Linked DNA regions of Homo sapiens: regions 1 and 3 are each linked to region 2. The links are contacts of gene promoters, found by promoter capture Hi-C in blood cells and fetal thymus (Javierre and others, 2016). All regions are on one chromosome and are shown on one strand. The core of a region is centred on a gene start or on the middle of the fragment in contact, and the rest is flanking DNA. Distances in the headings are between cores, read along the strand shown. Region 1 overlaps TRAK2 (trafficking kinesin protein 2). Region 2 holds the start of TMEM237 (transmembrane protein 237). Region 3 overlaps TRAK2 (trafficking kinesin protein 2).

Region 1 (4,069 bases), core at 490-2,989, 200 kb after region 2:
CAAGACTCTGTCTCGGGGGAGAAAATTAAAAAAAAAAAAAAGAAAGAGCACACTGTCTGGAGGAAGAAAGGAGGAGGAGGAAGAGACTAGAAACCAACTAAAATGCTTCTGAGATGCTACTACTGTTCCCAAAGCATGTAATTTAACAACTAAAAAAACATTTCAACCATTCTTAACTTTCTCAGCAAGTACTAGGCCAAACCACTGAATTTGCCTTTGTTTTATTTTTAGTTACAAAATTGAAAGACTACAAATGAAGCTTTTATTAGCAATTGTGAGTTTTTAAAAGAAGATATCTGACCATTTCTCATTTGATGTGGGGCTTATTTTAAATGCATTCATGATCAGCTGCAAATGCTCTTAGTGGAAATTGTGATAAAACTAAGCAATGAGCCAAATGAATGTTGAGTTTTGGCTTTCCTATGAGACTGACAACTAGTTCTTTTTAGTTATTACAGAAAAGTGTATAGTGTGTCATTGCTATAAAAATGATAAAGCACCCTTTTAACACCAAACTCTTTTATGCAGATTTTTTCATAAAGCACATAAGTGTTTTTCTTTAGAATATTCAATCTTAGCTTAACTGTGTTTTTCAAGGCAATTCATTTAGTTGATGTTGTATTGAAAATGTATTAATATCAACTTTGTTCATTAAATTACTTCTGTAACTCAGTGTATTGATATTTTTAATGATTAAGCTTCTAGGTAGTAGGCACGTATTTTGCAAGACTACTGTGTGTCAGTTGCTGTTAGGTTTTGGACATAACAAAAATAAGGTCCCTTCCTTTGAGGAACTTGCAGTGTAGTGAGGGAAGAATGACTAGTGGGCAGCCATCTTCTGGGATCATCCAAGAAAGGGAATCAATAAACACTGATTAACCCATTTATGCCAGAGGTTGCAAATTTTTTTGTGTGAAAAATCAGACTTTGGCGATGACCTTGAGCAGTAGGATATGACTCCCACAAGCTTAGCATTCCAATAATGGAACAGTAGGCATAAATGGGTTAAAAGCAAAAATTACAGTGAGGGATGTTAAGATTTCCTAAACCTTTTTTCCATATTTATAATCCACTTTATATTTCCCCTAGCAATTAACAGTAAAATTCTCACAAAAGAATAGAGGAAGAGCTGTCTTTTCTAGGGAGACAGTTAAGAAAGGACAGAGTGTGTTCATGTTCATAGCTAGGCTAGGTAAAAGAATACCAGGTGAGAAAAGCACTTGCTGACAGTGCCAAAGGAGGAGGAGAAAGCCAGCTAAATCCCTGGTGCTGGAGGGATGAAAGAAAGAGGTATTTGGGAAGTCAGCCAAGGGCAGAAAAACAGGTCCTGGAGTTCAGTCAAACAGACACCTTATGGGTGTTCTGATAACCTGCTTATCTGGTTTCTCAGCCAACAGCGAGTTAGAAAGGGGAGAGGCAAGCTAGCAACAGTAAAGTGTAGTAGTTGATAGCCTCACAGTGAGGGAGGAAACAAAATTAGAAATGGGCTTAAAATCTTAAAAAAAAAATAGCAATTTGGGATTATTTACTATAGGGAGAAAGAGCTCTTTAACTATGGATGGGTGCAGACTTGTTGGGGTCACATATGAGCGGGTTATTTTCTTTTTCTTTTTTCTTCTTTAAGAGGCACTTTTTTTTTTTAATACTTTAAGTTTTAGGGTACATGTGCACAATGTGCAGGTTAGTTACATATGTATACATGTGCCATGCTGGTGTGCTGCACCCATTAACTCATCATTTAGCATTAGGTATATCTCCTAATGCTATCCCTCCCCCCTCCCCCCACCCCACAACAGTCCCCAGAGTGTGATGTTCCCCTTCCTGTGTCCATGTTTTCTCATTGTTCAATTCCCATCTATGAGTGAGAACATGCGGTGTTTGGTTTTTTGTCCTTGCGATAGTTTACTGAGAATGATGATTTCCAATTTCATCCATGTCCCTACAAAGGACATGAACTCATCATTTTTTATGGCTGCATAGTATTCCATGGTGTATATGTGCCACATTTTCTTAATCCAGTCTATCATTGTTGGACATTTGAGCAGGTTATTTTCTATTTTGCCATCTTGGCTACACCACCCAGAAAAAGCTCTTTAAAAGTTTATAATCCTGGAGGATATCACTGTAGTCATTATATTATAATACAGTAATTGCTCTTCTTAGTAATGATCCTGAGTCATCAAATTATTTTCTGTCTGGCCTAAGGACTTTTTTTTTCCTCCCATGGCAGTTTATTGGACTTTCCTCGTTATCATGTGTTAACTTCAGGAGGAAAACATCTTACCATCAATGTTTTTTAAAATAAGAAAACCATGGAAAACCACAAAAAAAAAAAGTATTAAAGATTCTGTGGTATTTTTGCCATCATGTTGTCAATCCCATCTCTAGGGAATGTTTGCACCTTCAGAGTAACCGATGAGCTTAGTTGGTATAGCCCTGCACGTACACCTACTTTACTGATACCCATGAGAGACCTATGTAGACTTTTGTAAATTAGGCTAAGAAAGCTTTCCATTTCCACATGTTCTAACAGTCTCATATTCCTATGCAGTTCATTTTCCTCCCTACTATAGACTACAAGGATGTAATTTGACTACAGCCTGATTCATTCATTTAACAGATATTTATTGAATGCCTGTCATTTGCCAGATACTAAGATAGAGGTAGACTTAATTTATTGGAATAGAGATTTATTTTTTATCTATGTTCCATTTACTACTTTTAGCAGTTCAAAACAAGTAACAGAATGCTTCCCAATTTATGGTAATACATCTGTATTATTTTCTTGATATTGTAGAATTACCCACTTAAAAACAGAACCAAAGTCAGATTTGGAGTTGTCTCATTAAGAATTGTGTGATGTACATACAACACACACACAGATTATTCTGCCTCACTGTAAATACACCCAACTCTGGAACCAGATAAGTCATTTCTAAAAGCAAATATAAATTGCTCAAGAACAAATGGTTGGGGGGAGCGGATTACTTGTTTTTTTTCTTCTTCTTCTATATTCAGTAACCACTATGTGTTTTTAAAAAGTGGAGTAGAGACATAGGATTGTAGTAGAATTATCTGAGGCTTTTGCAAACTACACACACACTACTATCCTCACACTCCAGTCCCTTGCTAGTAAAGCTCAGAGGATAGAGGCCTCAGCTTTGGAAAAACATAGTTGGGTTTTATTCCTGGCTCTTAGTATGGACAAGTAATTAACCTCTAAGCCTTAATTTTCTTGTCTGTAAAATGATGACAGTAATAACATTCACCTCATGGAATTGTGAGGATTAAAGGAGGTAATCATACACAGAAAGCATTTAACATGATGCCTGGCACCTAGTAAGTACTCAATCAGCTAACTATTATTAGGAAAGACTGATTTGCAACAGAATTGAGAACATATTTCTTTATCATATGCATTTCATTTGAAACACAGAAGGCCCTTGTGTCTTTATCATAAATTGTTTACCATCATTAGCTGGTCTTCAAAACCTTCGGAGTGCTAGTTTCGTTTGTTTTATTGTTCAGTAAAGGCACGAATTTCACTAAAATGTTTTGATTTTTGCTTTCAGTGTCAAAGAGCTAGTTCCTTTTGCTCAGGAAAAGTTTCACAGGGTAGTGGTGTCTCCTCTTCAATTGTGTAGGTCTGGAAACTGAAGTTTTCTCACTGTACTGAGTTGATAAGGCCCTGAGAAAATGATACACTAATCAAATACATTAAAGAATAATAAATAAGCCAGGATGTGTGATCTTGATATACAGTACAACTGCCAAGTGGACTACATATTTGGGTCCCCATAGAGTTAGTATATTTTTCCCTTATAAGAAAGTCTGCATGAAAAACCAAGTTGCTAGGTTTGTGTGTACATTTAGAGGTAGAGGACATTTGAAGCATAAGGACCGGTATGCTGAGAGTAGGGAGGGTGTGCAGAATAGCAGTATGCGTTCTAAGAGCCACATCAGCTCAGAGTAGAGAGGGTTAAGACTGGAGGACACGGTAGGAAACTATGGCCACGGACAGAGAAGGATTAAACTAGGGCCGTAGCAATAGGCTTGAAAAATAAATTGA
Region 2 (3,995 bases), core at 1,496-3,995:
ATTTATGTTTAAATTTTATTTAAACTGGTACATTTTCTTTGGTTTTATGTTGTATATGGTTAAAAAGTTTCAAGTGTTTAGGTAAGAGTAAGATAAGTTCACACGGGAAGTTGAGGGGAGTAATCTGTCTGCAAACTATGACTAAATTTTGCAAAACATGACGAGACATTAAGACTAAAGATTAAAACATAAGTTTTGTAGTTTAGAAGACATTTATTGGACCTCATTTTTTAAAATAAAAACTTCAGTCTTTTATTATTTAAAAAAACTTCCAAATTAAAATTTCTTTATCTCAGTAATACATTTCTAAGAAATAAAGGATGACATACTGTGGATAGTGATATACTTTTCCCAGCTTTGCTTATGCTTCACATTAATTTAGAAGGATATGTTTATACCTGTTATAATAATTATATTTTCTCTACAAAAATTAGCTGGGCATGATGGCATGTGCCTATAGTCCCAGCTACTTGGGAGGCCTAGGTGGGAGGATCACTTGAGCCTGGGAGGCAGAGGCTGCAGTGAGCTGAGATGATCCTACTGCATGCCAGCCTGGGACAGAGTGGGACCCTGTCTAAAAAAAAAAAAAATTATTTTATCTATACTTAGCCACATTATTTCAATAACAGAGGGCAAAAAAATTACTATTTTCTAGTTTGCTGGTTTTGTAGAATTTTGAAAAAATATTTTTGAAACTTTATTGAAAATCATCTGTGCAAAATTTTCGGACCTTACTGTTTTTATACATAGTTTCACAACTGAATGTGACAGCATAACAAACTGTATTTTTTCCATTTGTCCAATTAAGTCTGTACTATCCATATTTTTCTATTTCTCCTAAAGGATGAAGACCTACAAGAGATGGAAAATTTAGCCCAAAGAATGGAAACTCAGTTTGGCCAATTTTTTGATCATGTGATTGTGAATGACAGCTTGCACGATGCATGTGCCCAGTTGTTGTCTGCCATACAGAAGGCTCAGGAGGAGCCTCAGTGGGTACCAGCAACATGGATTTCCTCAGATACTGAGTCTCAATGAGACTTCTTGTTTAATGCTGGAGTTTTAACACTGTACCCTTGATACAGCGATCCATAGTTGCAATCTAAAACAACAGTATTTGACCCATTTTAATGTGTACAACTTTAAAAGTGCAGCAATTTATTAATTAATCTTATTTGAAAAAAATTTTTATTGTATGGTTATGTGGTTACCTATTTTAACTTAATTTTTTTTCCTTTACCTCATATGCAGCTGTGGTAGAAATATGAATAATGTTAAGTCACTGAGTATGAGAACCTTTCGCAGATTTCACATGATCTTTTTAAGATTTAAATAAAGAGCTTTCCTAAATAAAATAAGCAATAGTTAACTTTAGAAACTGTACTCTATGAAACGTGTTTTATGAAAACATCTTTTACAAAAAGTGCTTACTTGACTAACTCAGCAAGAAAGGTTTAATGTACACATTTCACATCTAAAATCAAAACCTACAAGAAACTGCACTGCCTTCACTATTTACAAATCGGCCTACAAGGAAAAAATTATTCTCATGAGAGGTGTGACAAACACTAATTTTCCTTAACAGCCAATATCTACATGCAGGCCTAAATTAGAAAAAGGCAATGGATTAATCCCAGAGACCTATATATAGAAAATCACAAGAGTGAAACCGTGTCTCAGAGTTAAAGAAACCAGGGACTAACAGAAATTCTTGAGCATGCAGGACGGCAGATAAAAAACAACTTGCTAAATAAAACGCCTAAACTTCTTCCATTGTGAGATTAAAAAACAAAACAAAACAAAACAAAGCAAACTGGCTGAAAGTGGTTAGTACTAACACGGATGGCTACCTGGAGTCTGTACAAAATGAGCTTGCTGGCGTCACAGCTTGAATCTTTCCCCATGTTTCACACTGACTCCCTCCAAAATTTGCACATGCGACCCATGAAGGGACATGAAGAGGTAACTGCGAACGCCAGAGGATTTTCCAGATGGCTTCTTTCCTTCCACCAATCACCTACTAATCCCAGAATCCACCCCCTAAACGTTTTCTAATAAAAATACTGTCTTAAAGCCAACACAGGGAGACAGATTAGAGCTATACTCCTGTCTCCTTGTTAGCTGACTCACAATGAAAACTTTTCTCAAAAAATCAGCGCCATAATATTGGCTTCTGTGCGTATAGGGCAACAAGCCCCGTTTGTTTGGTAACAAGATTAGGATGCCATTACAAAGTGCTGTTTCTCTTTCTTTCCCCAGATTTGAGATTTCCAGGCGCTTTCCCTGTCCCTGTATCTGTTCATCTTCTGCATCATTCTCTTCTCCATATCCACACCATTCTTCCATCTTTCCCATTTCTTTCTTAACTGTAAAACAGAATGCATGATTCAAAATATTTGTAGTTCTCTGTTACTTAAAGTGAAAGTTATCTTTAAAAAAAAACAAACCCAACCAAACCAAACGATGCAAATCAGGTAGTTTGTAGTGATATTTATGTGAGGTTGGATTTGATTTTAAGGTTGAGAAAAAGTTTTTCCAAATTTGATTTACACAGTTGTGGGATGAAGGGTAAGCAATCGGAGAAAATGTGAGAATTGCCTATATTAATACACATCCACACACCCAGGCCTGCACAGACTCGTTGGTCCTGGAGAGTAAACGCATTCCTCCCAAACCCAGCAGCGCCTGGCAGGACAGAGGCGGGCGGGGACCTGGCTCAGGGGGCGGCTGCCTCGCCAGGCGCCACGAAGCCCCGGCGTCCCACAGGTCCCGGAGGCCGCTGCGTCGCGGGGAGCTGGGCTCGGGCCGCCGGCGGTTGCGCCGGGGCAGCCCCGCGGGGAGAGCACCATGAGGACTGACTCGGGGGCTCGGCTGGAGGAGGGCCACCTGGTGAGCGGCGAGGGGCGCGTCGGCCTCGAGAGGTGGCGGGTAAACAGCTACACTTGGCAGTGGGGGTGGGTGTGTGTGGGGGGGCGCCAACGAGCTGGGAATCACTAAGGGAGGGCCTTGCTCGTGGGGTGCGCGCATCCGCCCCTCCAGTGTTCACAGGAATGGGACGGAGACGCAGGCGAGGCCGGGACCGAACTCCCGGAGTGGGAGAGAGAGGCCTGGCATGAAGTTTGCGGGGACCTGAGCCCGCGTTGCCACGACGACGCCTCACTCATCTGAGGCCCGGGGCCCGGCGGGTGCCGGGGCTTCCAGCCAGGCCTCTCCTAGACTCCTCCGAGGAGAGGTCTGTAGCTGCCCAGAAGAGATCTGTTCGCCTGCGGAGTCCTTTAATTAAGGTCTTCCGTCACGCCCCGCTTCCCGCAAACAAATCACCGCCACCACTTAGGAAACCACGGGAAAGCTGTGATTGCAGCGCCACGGTCGCCAGATTTCTGCTCCTGGGCACATTACCCCCAACTCCGAGGCCCCCTTTTTGGCAGGGCTAGTCTGGACTGGCCAATCCAGGTCCCTGCACGCCTCTCACCGCAACATCCCCGCAGGGCGCTGCGCGCGGGGTACTAGCCAGGCGGCGCGGCCCGATGACGCATTGCGCCTGCGCGCGCGACCGAGCCGGGAGGGGTGGGGCGCCAGGTGCTTGGGGGCCGGCGGCCGCCGAGGCCGGCTAAACGCAGAATGGGGAAGAATCCTGTGGTAAGCGAGCCTTAGCTACTTTTAATTGTTAGGATTTTTGTCTTCAGTTGAGCCGTCCTACTTTTGAGGATTAGAGGTTGGGTCTCTGGGTGGGTGGAACGTCATTTTTGCGGGACTTTTGAAATCAGTTACGTGAACAGAGCCCTGGGATCGATCGCGCGCGCTTCGTAGCATCTTTAGAACAATAGCGCGTTCCTGTGACTGTCATTCTTCTCCAATTGTAATTTTGACTACTGGATGGTATTACGGCAGCTTGCCTCGTCCTAATCTTGTAGTACTTGCATTAATCTACTGTTCGAACGAATGGATTGCTAAATGGGACAAACTACAAGAGTGTCTAAAATTTAACCCTTTTG
Region 3 (3,649 bases), core at 427-2,926, 240 kb after region 2:
GGTTAGCAGATTTATTTTTCCCTTAGATAAGCTCTCTCCTTCGGTTCCACAAGAGAATTAAGCTATACACCCTAAGACACTTAGCGTTTATACAGTGGATTACCTTATCACCCATGCATCATGTACTAGCTTTGTACAATTCTTGGGAGAATTGAGAAAATTGTCATTCAAATGGTCTGTAGGGCCTGATTCTCCCCTGGAATCCTGTTGAGAAAGACTGCCCTAGATGGTGTGTATCATCAGTTTCTCTCAGTCATTTTGAAGGCAGAAATGTTTGCTATATCGTAGCAGCAAGGGCTGTGGTCACTGCTTTAGGGTTAAAACCTCAAGACCTGCCTGTAGGTGTCAGGAGCTATTGTAGCTTTTACTATGCCATGTGGGCACTGTTTGTGTTTCATTTCTATTTTGTTGTTGTTTTTGTTGGTTTTGGTGTGGGAAAGTTGGAGAGTGCTGCAAGATTAGAATTCTTTTTGAAATTCTATAGTTGTGGTAAAAACTTTAGATCTTGAGAAGGGACATATGAGAGAACTATCAAGCACCATCTCATGTAAATGACAGATATTAGAATGGATTATCATTGGTGTTTCCCATCCTGAAAATAATGTGAGATTGAGCTAGTTAATGTGAAATTATGCAGGGACAGAACATAAAGTAAGGATTAGTGAAGTGCTTATGTATGTTAAACTCCCACCCTGTATTTTCAGGAACATTAGATTCTCCAAACATTACACCAAAAATGTTGAACATTAATTAACAACCTCTGGAAACCAAGTTGCAAAATTGTTCTGTAAAAATATCTATCGTCTCCCTGATGTATAAATACTTTTTTAGAGAGTTAGGGAAGTCTATGTCTGGAAATAAGCAAGGATCATTGCTAATTTCTGTATCATTTAACATATTTTCAACAACGAAAACTGACGGGAAAATAGGTTTTGATAGGATTGATTTTAACAAAGACAACCTGCTTGGCTACCTCTACATTCCTGGCTACAGAATTATGGTGAAGAACTAGTCTGTGGTTTTTGAAGCATTTAATTACAATGTCTAAATGCCAAGACTTTAAACACTTAAGAGTTTTGCCCTGAGTACTTTTGGAATCATTCCAAGCAGCATGTCTTTATCAGGAGTATTGTGTTAAGGAAGAGAAGACAGAACTGATTCCACTGCAGAGAGAAAAATCCATTGTTCTTTTCCATTGGAAAAGGAAAAATCCATTGTTCCTTTCTGTTTTGTGCCTGACATCTTTCTGTGCAACTGAAGAGGCCCAGCCTTTGTGGATTGGTAGTATCTAGGTTGCGCATTCGACATAAGAATTTGAAAATTCTGATTGCACTATCTAACTTTTTTGCCATAACAAATACTTAGGCATTTTAAAGTTCATTTTTGCTTTTTGAAACTTTTTAACAAAGGTTCCTGGGTTTTTGTGGGTTTTTTTTTTTTTTCTGTTTGGAAAATAACATTTGTTCTATGGAAAACTGGCAAAACGCTGAAAAGAAAACAGATCAGCCATAGTCCTTACCCAGAGATAACCACTATTAACATTTTAATGTATATCCTTTCAGGCTCTGTTGAATATAGATATTTATAGATATGCTCACACTTTAAAAAGCAAAATTGGGATCTATGCTGTTTTATTATATAACATGCATTCACAGGTGTATATGCTGGTATTTCATTAGACAAGGTCTTTTTTATGTTCTTAGTGGGGCTGCGGTAGAAACAGCAGCACAGTGGAAAGAGCTCATTACTGGACTCTTACATCATCTGAGTTTTTTCTAATGACCTTGTGAGATGAGCGTTATTATCATCTCCATACTAAAATTCCAGCTTTGCCACTAATAGCTTTCTTCGTGGTCTTGAACATGCCACATAATTTCTCTCAGAGAAGATTCCTCATACAAGAAAGTGAGATCATTAAACTAGATAACTTCTTAAGGTTCAGCTTTAAATTTTTATGCTGTGACAGATGGTAAGCATTTATAGGAAATATTTTTTCATTTTTCCTCACTAAAACATATTTTATTCTAAACATTTCTTCACTGTATTACTGTGTCCTTCATTTTTTTCTTCCCCTTTCATCATATATGACTTGTGGTTCACAGTTGTTTTTATATCCTTAACTTACTGGTCTTACTCCAAGTTAAATCTGCCACTTCATCTTTAACTCTGGTCAGTCATGTCATGTGTTTGTTAAACTCGTTGTATAAAAACTGATTTTAACTGAGCCTATAGGATGCCTGATTTTTGCTTTGGGTGTTAACCCCAGATTGGTGGTTTTAATTCCTGGCTCCAGGTCATTTTCAACACCTGGGAATCTTCTGCATACTACCAGCGCCACAGGGCTCCCTGAAATTAATTAAATCGGAATCTGGACTTAAGAGCCATTGCTCTATATTACATTTGGGTTTACAACCATTGTCTGGTTTTCTGTAATTAGTTTAGAGCATGGATATATTGATTTTATATTTTTCCCATAATTTTGTTATTGAGACCAGAAGTAAAGGAGACCATTCACTGTAAGTATTTGCCTTAATTATTTAATCCTTTGTTCCCGCTATGCTACCAAATTATATTGTGTCTATTCCTTAGGCCCAAAAGTCTGCTTCCCTTATCACTGTGGTTAAATCATTGTTAGTTTCTCTATTTGTAAATATAAATTCTTTTGGAGTACAAATGTTTATTTCTAGCTTTTAAGAAAAGTTTTTATATTTTCAGTTTAAATCTTTTTTAGTTATCTCCAATACCATCAAGCCAGCACTTTGTTTTACTTTTAACTAGGAATAAGGCTATTATTAATAATTAAGCTATAGGTAATTCCCAGATTCATTTTAGTCAGTGGTGCCAGGGAGAAAATAAGCTCAGATAAAAGTAAAACATATCTAATGATATCCCTTCATACTCAGTCGTGGGCACCCTAAAGTGTTAAGATGGGACTATGGAACTATGAATTACTGCCAATTCAGAGAATTTAAAGTCAGAATCATTTCATACCTACCAGTTCTGTTTAAGGAGTAGTAACTATAAACAGTTATATGATACGTAGCAGTTAACGAATACTTTATTGCTTAGTAGATTATCATGTTTGATCCTCTTAATAACCTCATGAGATGTGTTATCACCTCCATATTTATTATCTGAATCTCAGAAGGGTTAAGTGACTTGTTCCAGCTCACTAAAATTTATGAATTCAGCTTTTCTACTCCAAAGCCCCTGTCCTTTTCACACTTCAAGGCAAACTAGTTATAATAAAAGAGTCTAAGTCAAACACAGAATTATGTTCTGCAGTAACGTATCATGTTCAAAGTCAAAAGAGCCCTCTTTTGTTATGCATTATTAACTTTAAGATACTGTTTAGTGTGACTGGAATCATTGGAGTCATATTTGCCCTTCTCTTTTGAACTAAATTATCCAGGTACATTGACAATTCCTGAACTTGTGAAGTGCAGAAATACAGGGCTTGAATTATACAACTAATAATGTAGCATACAATTTATTTTATAGCTGAGACCTAGATGGGAGAAAGATTTTTATACAAGTAAAGGGTTTTTAATTAAGCCTAAAGGAATTATGGTTCATAACAGAACCAGAAAAAGTCCTTCAAATCCTGTTCCTTGTTTACATTAGCTCACATGGTAGATGATCATAGATG

Evidence for each region. Contacts are between HindIII fragments. The CHiCAGO score rates a contact against its expected background, and 5 or more counts as called.
Region 1: a contact is called between a fragment that was not itself captured here and the fragment with the promoter of TMEM237 in region 2, in 1 of 17 cell types (endothelial precursors). The highest score is 5.2, in endothelial precursors.
Region 3: a contact is called between a fragment that was not itself captured here and the fragment with the promoter of TMEM237 in region 2, in 1 of 17 cell types (endothelial precursors). The highest score is 6.2, in endothelial precursors.

The regions. Positions count from the first base shown.
Region 1 is chr2:201,437,655-201,441,723 of GRCh38, reverse strand. All of the region lies in intron 1 of TRAK2 (trafficking kinesin protein 2), which reads left to right. Among named protein-coding and RNA genes, the nearest start is that of TRAK2, 12 kb to the left of the region's middle. The HindIII fragment of the contact is 1,540 bases long and covers 970-2,509 here.
Region 2 is chr2:201,642,253-201,646,247 of GRCh38, reverse strand. It overlaps TMEM237 (transmembrane protein 237), which reads left to right and starts at 2,745. Exons shown (of 13, transcript NM_001044385.3): 1 at 2,745-2,889. The coding sequence starts at 2,848. MPP4 (MAGUK p55 scaffold protein 4) reads left to right here. Exons shown (of 22, transcript NM_033066.3): 22 at 844-1,374. The coding sequence ends at 1,038. RefSeq lists silencers at 2,627-2,886, 3,457-3,646. The HindIII fragment of the contact is 8,699 bases long and covers 1-3,995 here.
Region 3 is chr2:201,401,540-201,405,188 of GRCh38, reverse strand. All of the region lies in intron 3 of TRAK2 (trafficking kinesin protein 2), which reads left to right. Among named protein-coding and RNA genes, the nearest start is that of FLACC1, 46 kb to the right of the region's middle. The HindIII fragment of the contact is 6,322 bases long and covers 1-3,649 here.